Linked DNA regions of Homo sapiens: regions 1 and 2 are each linked to region 3. The links are contacts of gene promoters, found by promoter capture Hi-C in human tissues and cell types (Jung and others, 2019). All regions are on one chromosome and are shown on one strand. Each heading gives the region's core, a stretch centred on a gene start or on the middle of the fragment in contact. The rest is flanking DNA. Distances are from core to core; before and after follow the strand shown.

Region 1 (4,576 bases), core at 1,318-3,817, 230 kb after region 3:
GTCCAGAATGTCACCTTCTGCAACTCACTAACAAAAACTACAGCCCATTAAAAATAGCAGAAGACATGAACACACACTTCAGGAAAGACAAGCTCATGAAAAGCACTCAACACCAGCAGTCATGAGAGAAATGAGAATTAAAACCACGAGGTACCACACATCCACCAGAGCAGCTAAAAACAGAAAGACTGACGCCATTGGGGCTGGTATGAACAGGGGGCAACTGGAACTCCCCAACATTTCCAGCACAAGTGGAACCGGCCACTGCTTCGGGAAGAGAGCTGACCATTCCTTATTAAATAACACCCACACCCACACCCACCCCAGGGCCCAGCAGCTCCACTCCAGATATCTATTTACCCAAGAGAAACCAACACACGCAGCCACTCAAAAGATTATTATGGACGTGCTCATAGCAGCTTCAGTCACAGCTGCTTCCAAAGGCTGTGTCTTCTGAAGAACGGAAACAGCCCAGGTGTCCAACGAAAAACAGAACCACAAACTGTGGGACAGTCATATAATGGAACACTTCAGCACGAAGCAGCAATGAACAGAAACATGCAACACGTGGGTCTGAAAAGCTGAGGGAAAGAAGACTGGCCCCACACATCTGGGTGACTTGTTTAGCAGAAGCTCCAGGACAGGCAGATCTATTACGGTGGGAAAATCAGAGCAGCGTCACCTCTGGGCGGAGGGGAGGGTGGGCAGCGGGGCCGAGTGGGAAGGGCACGGCAGGATCAGGGTGTGAGTCACACGGTGCCCGCACTTGTAAAAATGTGTCCCCTCACTGTGGGTCAATGACGCATAGGAAATTACCACCGACTACAGGCGCCCGCCACCACGCCCGGCTAATTTTTTGTATTTTTAGTAGAGACGGGGTTTCACAGTGTTAGCCAGGATGGTCTCGATCTCTTGACCTCGTGAGCCGCCCGCCTCGGCCTCCCAAAGTGCTGGGATTACAGGCGTGAGCCACCGCGCCCAGCCTAAGCATAGCAAAATCTTAATAGCAGGATCTAGGAGGAGTATACAGGTGTTCCCCGTAAAATTCTTTCAAAAGTTAGCTGTGGTTGAAAATTTTCAAAATACAAAGGATTTTTTAAACCCCTACAGTGAGATACTACTTCATACCTCTCAGATTCACAGAAATGTAAAGGTTGGCAGAGTGTGAAATGGGAGTGAAGCAACAGGAACACTTGAGTTCCGAGGACAGAGCCTGTGCCAGCCGCCTCTGTGAAGCACACGCCCCACGAGCAGCAGGCACATGTGAGGAGCACACACTCCACGAGCAGATGCCAGTACACGTGCAGAGCACACGCCCCAAGAGCAGGAGGCTCCGGGGTGGGCGCGAGAACATTCCTGTCAGCACTGTTCTCAGGTTACCAAAGAAACAAGCCCGTTAACAGGAGCGAGGAGAATTTCATTCCACAGAGACTACTACACAGTAGTGAGCGTCCATGGTGCAGGAAGGAGACCCTCAGAACACAGAATCGCTCACACTGCACTGCTGACAGGGGTGTGGAGAACAGAACAGGGCCCTAACACGGCACCAAGTTCACAGAGGAGCCGATTAACACTATCTCTATTTCTAATTCTATACAAAGAACTGTTTATATTCAACCAATGAGTAATCCCATGTGAAAGCTTCAATGTTCATGAAACTGAAGAGACCACAGACAGCAGCGCCTATTTTCCCACGCCGCAACTCACCCGTCTCCCCACCCCGCGCCTCGCCCGTCTCCCCACGCCGCGCCTCGCCCGTCTCCCCACGCCGCGCCTCGGCCCGTCTCCCCACGCCGCGCCTCGCCCGTCTCCCCACGCCGCGCCTCGCCCGTCTCCCCACGCCGCGCCTCGCCCGTCTCCCCACGCCGCGCCTCGCCCGTCTCCCCACGCCGCGCCTCGCCCGTCTCCCCACGCCGCGCCTCGCCCGTCTCCCCACGCCGCGCCTCGCCCGTCTCCCCACGCCGCGCCTCGCCCGTCTCCCCACGCCGCGCCTCGCCCGTCTCCCCACCCCGCGCCTCGCCCGTCTCCCCACGCCGCGCCTCGCCCGTCTCCCCACGCCGCGCCTCGCCCGTCTCCCCACGCCGCGCCTCGCCCGTCTCCCCACGCCGCGCCTCGCCCGTCTCCCCACGCCGCGCCTCGCCCGTCTCCCCACGCCGCGCCTCGCCCGTCTCCCCACGCCGCGCCTCGCCCGTCTCCCCACCCCGCGCCTCGCCCGTCTCCCCACCCCGCGCCTCGCCTGTTTCCCGGTCCCACGCCTTGCCTGTTTCCCCACCCCCCGCCTTACCTGTTTCGAGTAGCCCCCATAGACGACGATGCCGCCCTGGGGAGTGACGGACATCTGGCAGCCTGATCTGGGTGTGGGCCCCGTCCCTGACGGGGACAGCTTGCTCCATGTGAAGGTGTCCAGATTAAAGGCATACACGTCGTTGTAGTAGATGTAATCCCTGGTTAGAAGAACAGCAGCTGTCAGGGTCCGTAACATTGGGAAAAGCCCTGACATTAAAAACTGAACTGATTTAAATTAAAGGTAAATTTCCTACTGTTTGGGGAAAAACTCAAACCATTTTTCTCCTCTGCTCTTACACCAACACAACAATCAACACAGAAACGTGGCCGCTTTCCCTGCAACGAGCCAGAGACGCCAGTCAGGTCTCCTCAAACTCAATCTTGACGCAATCTACCTGGAGACAGGGCAACATTTTCACCTGTTTAATTCAAGTTTGAATTGATATGAAAGGACCACAAGCACGTATGAGTTTGCATTTGAAAACCGGAAATAATGCTGGCCCACAGAGGCAGAGGAATTTAATCTGAAAGCCATACTGCGTTTTCTTACACAGTTAACACAATCAGAGACAATTCCATTAGGTTATTAGGTGTGCAACCGTAAGGGCAGCAGTGAATGGCGCCTCCAAAGGGATGATCAGAACGGAGGTGTGAGCAGCCTGGCAGCAAGGGTGGTAAGGCCCCACAGTGGACTGGAGGGGTGAGCGAGGGGACTGGGCGCTCCAGGGAAACTGAAGACCACAGAAGCCGACCCTCTGTGCCCGAAATCACAGCGCGGCAAGGAGGCCCCGCAGCCTTGCCCTGCTCAGTGCCTGCCGGACCCAGCACGCAGACTGGGCTGAACAGGGAAGTGGCAGCTTTGCTGGAGGCATGGGGAGACTCGGAGGCGCACCCAGAAAGTCCTGTCCTAATGTGGAACTTTGACACAATTATCGTGAAAGCGTAAGGGGCTGCTCTCCAGCTACTCAAAAAGGAGAGCCAAACTCATTTTTTAAGGAAAGCATGGAAGAGCAAGCAGCTCTAGCCCAAGTCTCAAGTGCCCGGTTTTCTCCTGTTTGTTCCTGTTTTGTGTGAAGCAGGAAAAGTCACAGGGCGTTTACCCAGCACCAGCTGCCACATCTGGTCTTAAGATAAACAGCCTGGGCACAGTGGCTCACACCTGCAATCCCAGCACTTTGGGAGTCTCAGGCAGGTAGATCACTTGAGGCGAGGAGTTCAAAAACAGCCTGGACAATATGGTGAAACCTTGTCTCTACTAAAAACACAAAAAATTAGCCAAGCATGGGGGCGGGTGCCTATAATCCCAGCTACTCAGGAGGCTGAGGCACGAGAATAGTTTGAACCTACGAGGTGGAGGCTACAGTGAGCTGATCACGCCACTGCACTCCAGCCTGGGCGATCGAGTGAGAATCTGTCTCAAAAAAAGAAGAAAGAAAAGATAACCTGACCTTGCTGACTGCAACTCAGACTGACCACATCCTTCGCAGGACGATGGCTCTTAATATAGATAGAATCTGAGGAATGTGGAAATGTGGAAGCGTGTAATCTTTAAAAGACTGCTACAGACCACTGTTTTTTTCAGATTTCACGTCGCAGATTTTTAGTACAAAGATTCTACTTTGCACGTAAGATAAATACAGAATATTTTCTCTATAAATGCAGAATAGAGTTTAAGGAAAACTCCCAAGTTGGTATTTGAATAATTTTAAACAAGATAACAACAGCTTTGAAAAAAGTTCTGATTTTAAAATGGTTGCAAGTTAAAACAAACATGAAGCATGATTTGATTTATAACCTGTAAGTTCAAAGGAGGAAGGGGCTGTACAATCTCACTGTCCTACACATAGTAGGTAATGAATTAATGCTCTGACAAACTTATGTGTGCATTCTGACAATTATTTGTTTTAAAATAAATTTTAAGAATGAACATAAGGCTAGGCGCGGGGGCTCAAGCCTATAATCACAGCACTTTGGGAGGCCGAGGCATGTGGATCATGAGGTCAGGAGTTCGAGACCAGCCTGGCGAACATAGTGAAACCCCGTCTCTACTAAAAATACAAAAATTAGCTGGGCATGCGGCTCACTTCAACATCCGCCTCCCCAGTTCAAGCGATTCTCTTGTATCAGCCTCCCGAGTGCCTGGGATTAAAGGTGTGCACCACCACACCTGGCTAATTTTTTGTATTTTTTAGTAGAGATGAGTTTTTGCCATGTTGGCCAGGCTGGTCTCAAACTTCTGGCCTCAAGTGATCCACCCACCTCAGCCTCCCAAAGTGCTGAGATTACACAT
Region 2 (4,175 bases), core at 1,271-3,770, 180 kb before region 3:
AATATCCATTCATATAATACTTCTAATTCTGAGGGGTGACTGGTCAACTGACATTCACCCTGGACCCTAGGGGAAGACCTCCTGGTTCAAGTCACCTACCTGCTTTCGGGGTCTCAGGGACAGAGGGACCCAGTAAGGCAGTGCTGCTTCCACCCTGGACACAGGCAGGCGGCCCCCGAATCTGGTCTGGCATTCACAGCAGATGGCCCAGGGGCCAGGGTGCATCTGAGTAAGATCCAGAAATGACAGAACTGAGCTTGATGCTGCATTTGCAGGGAGACAGGAGGCTCTCAAGCACAGTAGATCCGTGCTCAGGAAGATGGTGTCCGGGGGCAGGGTCCCCAGCTCCTACTGCAGCTTGGAAAGAGGCAGGCTACCGTGGCTCGCCCTGAGGCCTCCAAGGTCATTTGGAGGGGGATCCCCCGGAGCTTGCAAATCAGGTGCGCTGGGATTCTCAGCTGCTTCCTGCTGTGCTACAATGAGCAAGTCTCGTGGTCCCCTCTGAAAATGGGCATGTACAAGCAGCTCTAGAGCTTATGCGCACATGAGTGCTGCCTTTATGGCCATCTGTCACACTCTGGTGTGCAAGAGCTTCCACATCCATCCCATGTGACCTTCGCAACACCCTCAGGCAGGAAGGAGAGGTGCTGCCATCACCTCCAGGGGCACACGGAGAAGCTGATGCCCAGAGCAGGTATATTAGGTGGCCTCCTGAACTCTGAGGTGTTGTGAGGGCCTGGGAGGTGTTCTGGAGGCCCAGGGATAGCTCCTGCAACCACACTTTTGTGTTTGGAGGATTCTCTCATGGGATGCAGCTTCTGGACCCACATTCCCTGCTCTCCTCACCCCACAGGGATATGTTGGGGTCAGGGCCAGTGGCTGAGGATTTGCTTTCCTTACCGAATGACGGGGGAGGCACACTTCTTTCTTGTAGGTTTGAAATGTGCTATTCCTAGAAGAGAAGAACAGAAAAGCTTAGGGTTTGTGTAAACTAGGGGGCAGGGATGCTAGAGCACAGGCCTGGACCTGTCTTCTCAGAACTGACTCTTAATAATAAAGCCCACGGGTGGTGGGGATGGGGGGATCCTCTGAGCCCAAGAAGAGTGAGAGGGTGACATCAGAAGCAGGCGTGTGCTAGCTCATGCGTGAATGTCTAGGGGCTCCTGGGGGCTGGCTGTCATGGAATCCTGCATTCCCAAGCCAACCAGCTTCAAGCTGACTCCAGCTACACTTGTGCTTGGAGCATCAGAAAAGACAGGAGCATTCCAACCTGCTGAGAACTTTCCAAGACATGTAGCTGCCAATCACATCACCTAGGATGATCTGTCAGACACCCTCAACTTACTGAAATACTGAAGAAAAAACATCGTCAAACTGTCCATTAATGAACCTCCTTCCACTATAAAAACCCGGGTGCTTTGTCTCTGGGATGACAAAGCACTTGGGGTTACACAGCCTGTGTGGCTCTTCCCTGTTCCACTCCCCAACAAACTGCTTGAATGTTGGCTGGATGAAGCGTCTCCAGTGGGTGCAAAGCCCTGCTTCCCTGACAGTAGTGGGTCAAAGTGCTTTGTATGTGGAAACCGTAAGAGCGATATAAGTGTTTTTGGGTTTCATTGTCATAATAACCATTATTATTATTGCTATTTTTGTGAGAGTAATAGGTTCACGCATCAACTCTCCCAGATAATGCTTGAAAACAGAGGATGGGGCACTGCCCTCCACAGCATCCGAGGCCCCTTCTGGTAATGACAGCACTGCTATATTCCTGGTGGGGAGGGGGGGGGCCACAGCCATCTCAGTCCTTGTAGTTCAGGTGGGCCAAACTCACCACTGCCCAGCCTGGAAAGCTGGGAAAAAAAAGAATCTCCTTTTTGTTGAGGTTGATAATCTGATAACATGTAAACCTCAGGAGGTCCTGGTGATCATCTTGCCTCCACAAGGGAAGCCAGCAAAAAGGAAGGAAGCTGAGAGATGGAGAGAAACCTTCCAGGACCATGGTCAATGTGTACCTGGATACATCCATGCCTGAAGGCCTACTTCTGACATTTTCAGTTATGTGGAACCATCAGTTGCGTTTTTGTTAAGCCAATGTAAGTGAGGTTCCTGTGGGTGGCGGTCAAGAGTTCTGCCTGTGCATAGGTCATGGAGCAATGCCGGGCCGGGAACTCACAGGCGAGGTGTCGGGTAGCCGCGGGCAGGATTCAGGACTCACTTGCCTGCCATCCTGCGCGCTGGGTGTGAGTGCCAACCTGCAGAGCCCGACGCACCCCGCGCCCGGCCCCCCGGCAGCAGCGCCTGAGGCTGCTCCAGTGGCCTCATGATGATGGTGACAACGCCGCGGGGACGGTGGGGACCGGCTCGCACGCATATGGCTTCTTATGGCTGACGCGCCCTTTCACACACACATCGTCCGCAGGCCCTGACGCCCTGGCTCCCGCCTTTCCCTCCTGCCCCAGGAGGAACCCAACCCGAGCTCAACCCCAGCCCCAACCTCAACCGCTCAGAGGAGCCCAACAACGCCCGCGCGCCCGCCCGTCCCGCTGACTAGCCCGCGCCCAGCCAATCAAAATTGGCCTTCTAGGTATGTGACCTTAGCTGGCAGCTGATTGGTCCCTCACGAGAGACGCGGGGTCAGCGGCTCAGAGCGCGGCTGTGTGGGGCTGCGGGGCTCCCGCCATGCCCGCTGGGGTAGGTCCTGCGGACCCCGGCCACTGGAGCCACTCATCATTTCCGACGGATGGGCCGGAGGGGCCGCCGGCCGCCCCAGCCAGGGTCTCGGTAGCCTGCAAGGAGAGAAAGAGGTGGGAGCAGCCCGCGCGGGGCCCTGCGTCTTGCATAGGCGCTTCTGGTAAAATCACTCCTTTATCTCAGATAATGAGTTGGCGCTGGATCGCTGCGTCCTCAGGTGGGGCTCGAATCGTGACTTTTAGAGAAATAGGTTTTCTTTCTTTTTTTTTTTTTTTAACAACATGGGGTTTAAAGGGCGCGGAATTGGAAGCAGTCGTCACCCGGAGGCCTGGGCGTGCAAGCACCGAAGCTCTGGCTGGCCCTGAGCCTCCCCACCCCACCCGCTCTTTTCGCTGGAACGCGTGTACTTTGGGCAGTTGCTGACGTGGAGACAGGACGTATGTCTTCATATTTTAGTAAAACCCAATGCCCTCTGCCTCTCTGATTATGTTCTTTAAGTTATCGCCAGTTCCAATTTGTATTTCTTGGAAACGGTTGGGTCTTCCCTCACTTTTCAGTATTTTCATGTAGACTCAAATACTCTGGATTAATATTTGTATTTGCCCAAACCATCACGAGCACCTCTTACCCTGATGGGCAATACTTCAGTGTGCTGCGTTCTGGCCACAGAGCAAACAGGGTGCTCCCAGGCACTGCCCTCTCGGATTTCTTGCCTTGTTATTTAATCATTAAGATCGTGACCTATGAGCAGGACTGTTTCCAGCCAGCACATACACATGTCCTCTCCTGGCCAGCATCCATGCTGATTAGACGGTGCCCCTGCCATACTAGCTGCCTAATATTTCAGATACCCCACCCCGTGTGTGTGTGTAAATCATGTCACTGCCCTCTTTGTAGCTAATGACAAAATTCCAAGAGTCACCATTAGCCTAGCACATTATGCCTGTCTCATTTCTGCCCACTTTGGAGCACTCGGCTTCTCTGCTGTTTTCCTCCAGAGCACACTGAAACACTGCCATAGCACAGCAGGGCATAGAAGACAGGCTCATGCTCCCCTGGACGCTCAGGCCTTCACCTCGGGCACACTAGGTCTTGTCATTCCATGTCAAGAATAGCTCTTCACTGCCCTCACCCACCCAAGAATGGCTAAAATTAAAAGGACTGACAATACCTAGTTTGTCGAGGATGTCACAGCTGGAACCCTCATACATGGCTCATGAAATTGATAAAACCACATTGGCAAACTGGTAGTATTTACAAAACCTAAACATATGAATACCTGATGACCAACTAATTCCTCAACTCACCCAAGAGAAATGAGAGCTTATGTGTACCAGAAGACATGAACAAAACTACCCACAGCAGCTTTCTTCCTGATGGCCCCAAACTGGAAATGATCCAGATGTCCATCCATAGGAAAAAAAGATTTTAAAAAGAAAGTATGGCATGTTCACAGAGAGGAAATTCTGTACAACAATGGAAAT
Region 3 (4,422 bases), core at 706-3,205:
ACCAAGGCGCCGCAATGTGTGTTATCTGTCACCCAAGGGCCCCATTAAGGGGACAAAGGCCTTATCGCGTTTGCAGCCGGCTAAGTGAAAGGAGGGCACCTGGGACTGTGAGCTCTGACCGCGGACGTCTCCCGCACCGCTCCCGCGGATCCTCGGACCCAGGGCCCCTGCAGCCGCTCCTGCCCAAGGGGCGCGAGGCGGAGGTGTGGAGGCTTTGGGGCACGCAGAGGGGACTGAGGGTGTGGGCTCAGGGCCGCGGTGCGGTCTTGGGGCTTAAAGTGCAGACTTAGGGTGAGGAGTGCGGGCTTAGGATGGGGGCTTGGGATGTACGGCGGAGGCTTGGGATGTACGGCGGAGGCTTGGGATGTACGGTGGAGGCTTGGAGAGGTGGGGCACACATTTGGGGTGCGACATAGAGGCTTAGGATGGGGCTTGGGATACGGGCTGGGGGCTCGTGGTGCAGGTTGGAGACCTGGGTGGGAGCTCTCAGTGCAGGCTGGAGGCGTGGGTCGGGGGGTCGCGGTGCAGGCTGGAGGCTTGGAGTGCAGAGTTGGGGATGCAGACTTGGGGTACAGGGCAGAGCTCGGGGCGGGCACGCACCTTGTGGCAGGCTGGGCAAGTGGGCAGCGCGCCGCCCGGCCCGGGCGCGCCCTTGCCGCCGTGGCCCCCGCCGCCGTTCAGGCTGCTCTGGATCTGCGTGAGCTCCTGGCGCAGCACCTGCTTCTGGTGGAAGCTGAAGGCCGGGTGGTTGGAGGCCATGGTGAACAGCAGCAGGAACTCATCGCCCGTGCGGCCCTCGTTAAGCTGCAGCCCGTAGTTGTGGATGATGGAGTCGATGTGCGTGAGCGTGCGGTAGAGCACGCCCGCCGCCTCGCGCTGCTCCGAGCCCAGCAGCGCCAGCGACACCAGCAGCTTGCTGCGCACCACCTCGTCCGTCAGGTTGGTGAGGCTGCCCAGGTCGGCCGGGTTGTTGGCCTTGATCTCCGAGTCGCGCAGCGAGTGGTAGTCCTTGCGGGCCAGGTCCTCCAGGCACGAGCCGAGGAAGCGAAGCTCGAGCGGGATGCACAGGTCCAGCAGGCCGCACAGGAACTCCACGCGCTGCGGCGACGGCAGCTCCGAGAACCAGCGGTACACGCCGTCCCTCTGCAGCGGGCAGCGCTTCTCCACCATGCTGCCGCCCGCGCCGCGCCGCGACCCGGGGCCGGGGACCGCGCGGGGGCGGCCGGGGGGCGCCGGGGGCCGCGGCCGGGGCGCGCCGGGACCGGGGACGCGCGGGCCGGGGCCGGGTCCGGGCGAGGGCGCGCGGGCGCCGCGGGCCGGGCGGGCGCCGGGGCGGGGGCGGGGACCGGGGCCGGGCAAGGCTCCCGTCAGGGGCCGGCGGGCGGGCGCGCGCGGGGCGCCGGGGGGGCCCGGGGCGGCCGGGGCGGCCGGGGGCGGCGAGCGGCCTCGGGCCCCCCGCTCACGGGGAGGCGCCTTCCCCGCGCCCGTGCCCAGCGGCGGCCGGTGCGCGGCGGCGGCGGCGGCTGCTCCTCGTCGTCGTCGTCGTCGTCGCCCGGGAGGCGGCCGCCCCCATCTCCCCCCGCGCCGCAGGGTCTGTCACTGCGGGCCGCCCCCCGACGGAGCCGCCCCGGCCATGCCGTCGCCGCCGCCCGCGCCTCCGCCCAGGCCGGCCGTTACCCCGGGCCGCGGGCGCGGCGTCGCCGCCTGGGGAGCGCTGGGGGCCGCGGCCGCGAAACGGACGCTGGAGGGGGAGGGACGCGCGGCGGGAGGCGCGGAGGGATCCGGCCGGGACTTGCCGGCCTTGCTGCTCCCGCGCGGCGGACGGATCCGGGCCCGAGCGCGGCGGCGGCGGCGACGGCGACGGCGACGGCGACGGCGACGGCGGAGGAGGCGCCGGCCGAGGAGCGGAGGGATCGTCGCGCTCGCGGCTGACGGGCGGCCGGGATCAGCAGAAGTGGGCGGGGTGGCCGCCTCTCGCGACAGCCCGGGCCTGCCGGGCCCGTCCCCCCCCCACTGATTGGCTCAGGCGGCCCGTTCTCGGCCCGTGATTGTGCCGGGTCCCCAATCCCATTCGCCCGTTCCGCGGCCACGCCTCCCTGGGGGCTGTCGATCATGTTGGGGCCACCGCCTCCCGTCCCTCGGCGGCCGTCAAGACGCGATTGGTCCGCGGAATCGGAGAGGCGGAAAACCCGGGCTGGATTTCTGGTTGCTTTTGTTCCCGCAAATTTGCGTGGAGCATTGTTTTTCGGCGAAAACGGGGCGTTCGGCCTTCCTGCTTTATTTTTGAGCGGTGTAAGAGGGAGGTAGTGGGTATCTTCGAGAAACGGCCGCCGCGGGGTCCGGAGCCCCGGGTTCCAATCCCGGGTCGGCCACTGCAAAGCTGTGTGACCTTGGGCGAGTCACTTGGCCTCTCTGAGCCCCAGGCGCCTCCCCGGGAAAAAGAGGGTAATAATAACCGCCCCCGAGGTTTGTGCGAAGGTGTTGAGCTCACAGAGGGCCGGCACCGGCACTTTTGAGGCGGCTGACTTGCCCTGGGGGTGTGATGGGAGGTGCAAGCTTTCTCCAAAAGCCTCGTCCAAATGGAGCCTTTAAATCCGCCTTCTTTCCGCGGCTACTTCACCAGCTCGCCAAACGCAGAAAATGCAAACACAGGGGAGGGGGCAAGGGAGCTGACCTGGCTGGAAGTAAACAGAAACGCCACCCTCCCCTGGCACTTGCATTGGCACCGGATTGCAGGTGGGGGAAGGGCCGGTGCACCCAACCACCTTTAAATCCCACCACTTACACACAGGCATAGAAGTAGAGCCGCGGGGGCTGGACGCTCATTCCTCCCCTGCCCTTCCCCTAGAGCGCTGCTTTGAATGTCTGTTGATCTAGAACGGGGTCTGTTCATTCATGGGTTCCAGGTCCCAAGCGCCCGGGGGCAGCTGAGAGCAAAGCTGGCGCCCTCCCTACCCTGTGGAGCTTACACTCTGGTTCTGGGCAGTGCACACTAGAGATTGGTTAAATCAATGAATGAACTTTTTCAGGATATGGTCCAAGGTGCTGAAAACTTCCTAACAAAACTCTTCAGCCGAATCTGGCACGCCTGTGGTTCCAGCTACTGGGTAGACCGAGGCAGGAGGATCGCTTGAGGCCAAGAGTTTAAGACCAACCTGGGCAACATGGTGAGACCCCCCCTCCCCGCCCCAGTCGCTCCAAAACAAACAAACCCCACATTCTCCAGTCTTAGGTCTTCGAGGATGAACAGAGATTGCAGAAAGGCATGGTTGGGAACAAAAAAAATTGCTCTCCACTCCCCCAGCCCCCTCCACACCTTGGGCACATTTCCCTGGAGCTGCCCCAGTGTTCTTTGTCAGTGTAGGAAGAAGCAAAAATCTAAATGGAGTCAGGATGGCCTCCCACATGGGCACAAGGGCAAGGCTGGGGACAGTTGGGTCTCCTCATCTTATTTCCCAGGTCTAGGCTGATTTCTATTAATAATTAAATTAATCGTCGTTGTCCTGGACCTCACTTCTTAATGTGATTCCAGGGAACTGGCCACATTCCAAAATTCATAATCTAAGGTAGTGAAAGAACGTGAACATCAAGACAGTTTGGCTGGGCTCAGAGGCTCACATCTGTAATCCCAGTACTTTGGGAGGCCGAGGGTAGATCCCTTGAGCCCAGGAGTTCGAGACCAGCCTGGGCAACATGGCGAAATCCCATCTCTACAAAAACTACAAAAATTAGCCAGATGTGGTGGCATGTGCCTGTAGTCCCAGGTACTTGGGAGACTGCAGTGGAAGGATTGCCCGAGCCCGGGAAAGGGAGGTTGCGGTGAATGGGGATCCCGCCACTGCACTCCAGCCTGGGTGACAGCGTAAGACTCTGTCTCAAAAACAAAACAAAACAAAAGATTCATTTCTTATTGATAAAGCAAGCTCCTTGGAGAAAGATCTTGGAACCTCATTAGTGCTGGGGGTGGGGGTGGGGCTTCTTCAATCCAGCCGAGCTGGCTGTGAAACCCCCAGGCTTTGGTACCAAGTGAGCTCCAGTCCCAGCTGTGGCTGACTGTGTGAACTTGGCTATGCATTCAGAGGCCTCTGAGCCTCAGTTTCCTCATCTGTAGAAGACAGCCAGGAACCCGTCATCCTGGCTAGCAGTGGAAGTCAAAGGTGCTCATGGAAAGCCCTTGCTGGCTGGAACAAGGGAGGCCTGAGCTGTGGAAGTCCTTGGATCAAGGTCCTCCCCACTTCCCGCTGCCTTTTTGGTCCTTCTTGCGTGCTCTTTGTGATTTAATGGCTTAGTAGGTTGAATCATGTCCCCCCAAAGTTTATCTCTACCCCAAATCTCAGAATGTGACCTTATTTGGGAAAAGAGTCTTTGCAGATATAATTAAGGTAAGAGTCAAGATAAAATCACACTGAATTAAGGTGAGCC

The links. Contacts are between HindIII fragments. The study calls those that stand out against the background at their distance.
Region 1: a contact is called between a fragment that was not itself captured here and the fragment with the promoter of ZCCHC14 in region 3, in 1 of the 25 tissues and cell types used here (dorsolateral prefrontal cortex).
Region 2: a contact is called between the fragment with the promoter of C16orf95 here and the fragment with the promoter of ZCCHC14 in region 3, in 1 of the 25 tissues and cell types used here (dorsolateral prefrontal cortex).

Annotation. Positions count from the first base shown.
Region 1 is chr16:87,724,481-87,729,056 of GRCh38, forward strand. It overlaps KLHDC4 (kelch domain containing 4), which reads right to left. Exons shown (of 12, transcript NM_017566.4): 7 at 2,285-2,444. Among named protein-coding and RNA genes, the nearest start is that of KLHDC4, 39 kb to the right of the region's middle. RefSeq lists enhancers at 15-1,214, 847-936. The HindIII fragment of the contact is 6,423 bases long and covers 1-4,576 here.
Region 2 is chr16:87,314,872-87,319,046 of GRCh38, forward strand. It overlaps C16orf95 (chromosome 16 open reading frame 95), which reads right to left and starts at 2,521. Exons shown (of 7, transcript NM_001195124.3): 1 at 2,220-2,521; 2 at 901-952; 3 at 100-225. The coding sequence starts at 2,371. C16orf95-DT (C16orf95 divergent transcript) reads left to right here and starts at 2,638. Exons shown (of 2, transcript NR_135180.1): 1 at 2,638-2,851; 2 at 2,986-3,172. RefSeq lists enhancers at 342-842, 2,099-2,548. The HindIII fragment of the contact is 14,678 bases long and covers 1-4,175 here.
Region 3 is chr16:87,491,069-87,495,490 of GRCh38, forward strand. ZCCHC14 (zinc finger CCHC-type containing 14) reads right to left here and starts at 1,956. Exons shown (of 13, transcript NM_015144.3): 1 at 601-1,956. The coding sequence starts at 1,170. ZCCHC14-DT (ZCCHC14 divergent transcript) reads left to right here and starts at 3,119. Exons shown (of 4, transcript NR_110943.1): 1 at 3,119-3,167. RefSeq lists a silencer at 1,895-2,074. The HindIII fragment of the contact is 17,996 bases long and covers 1-4,422 here.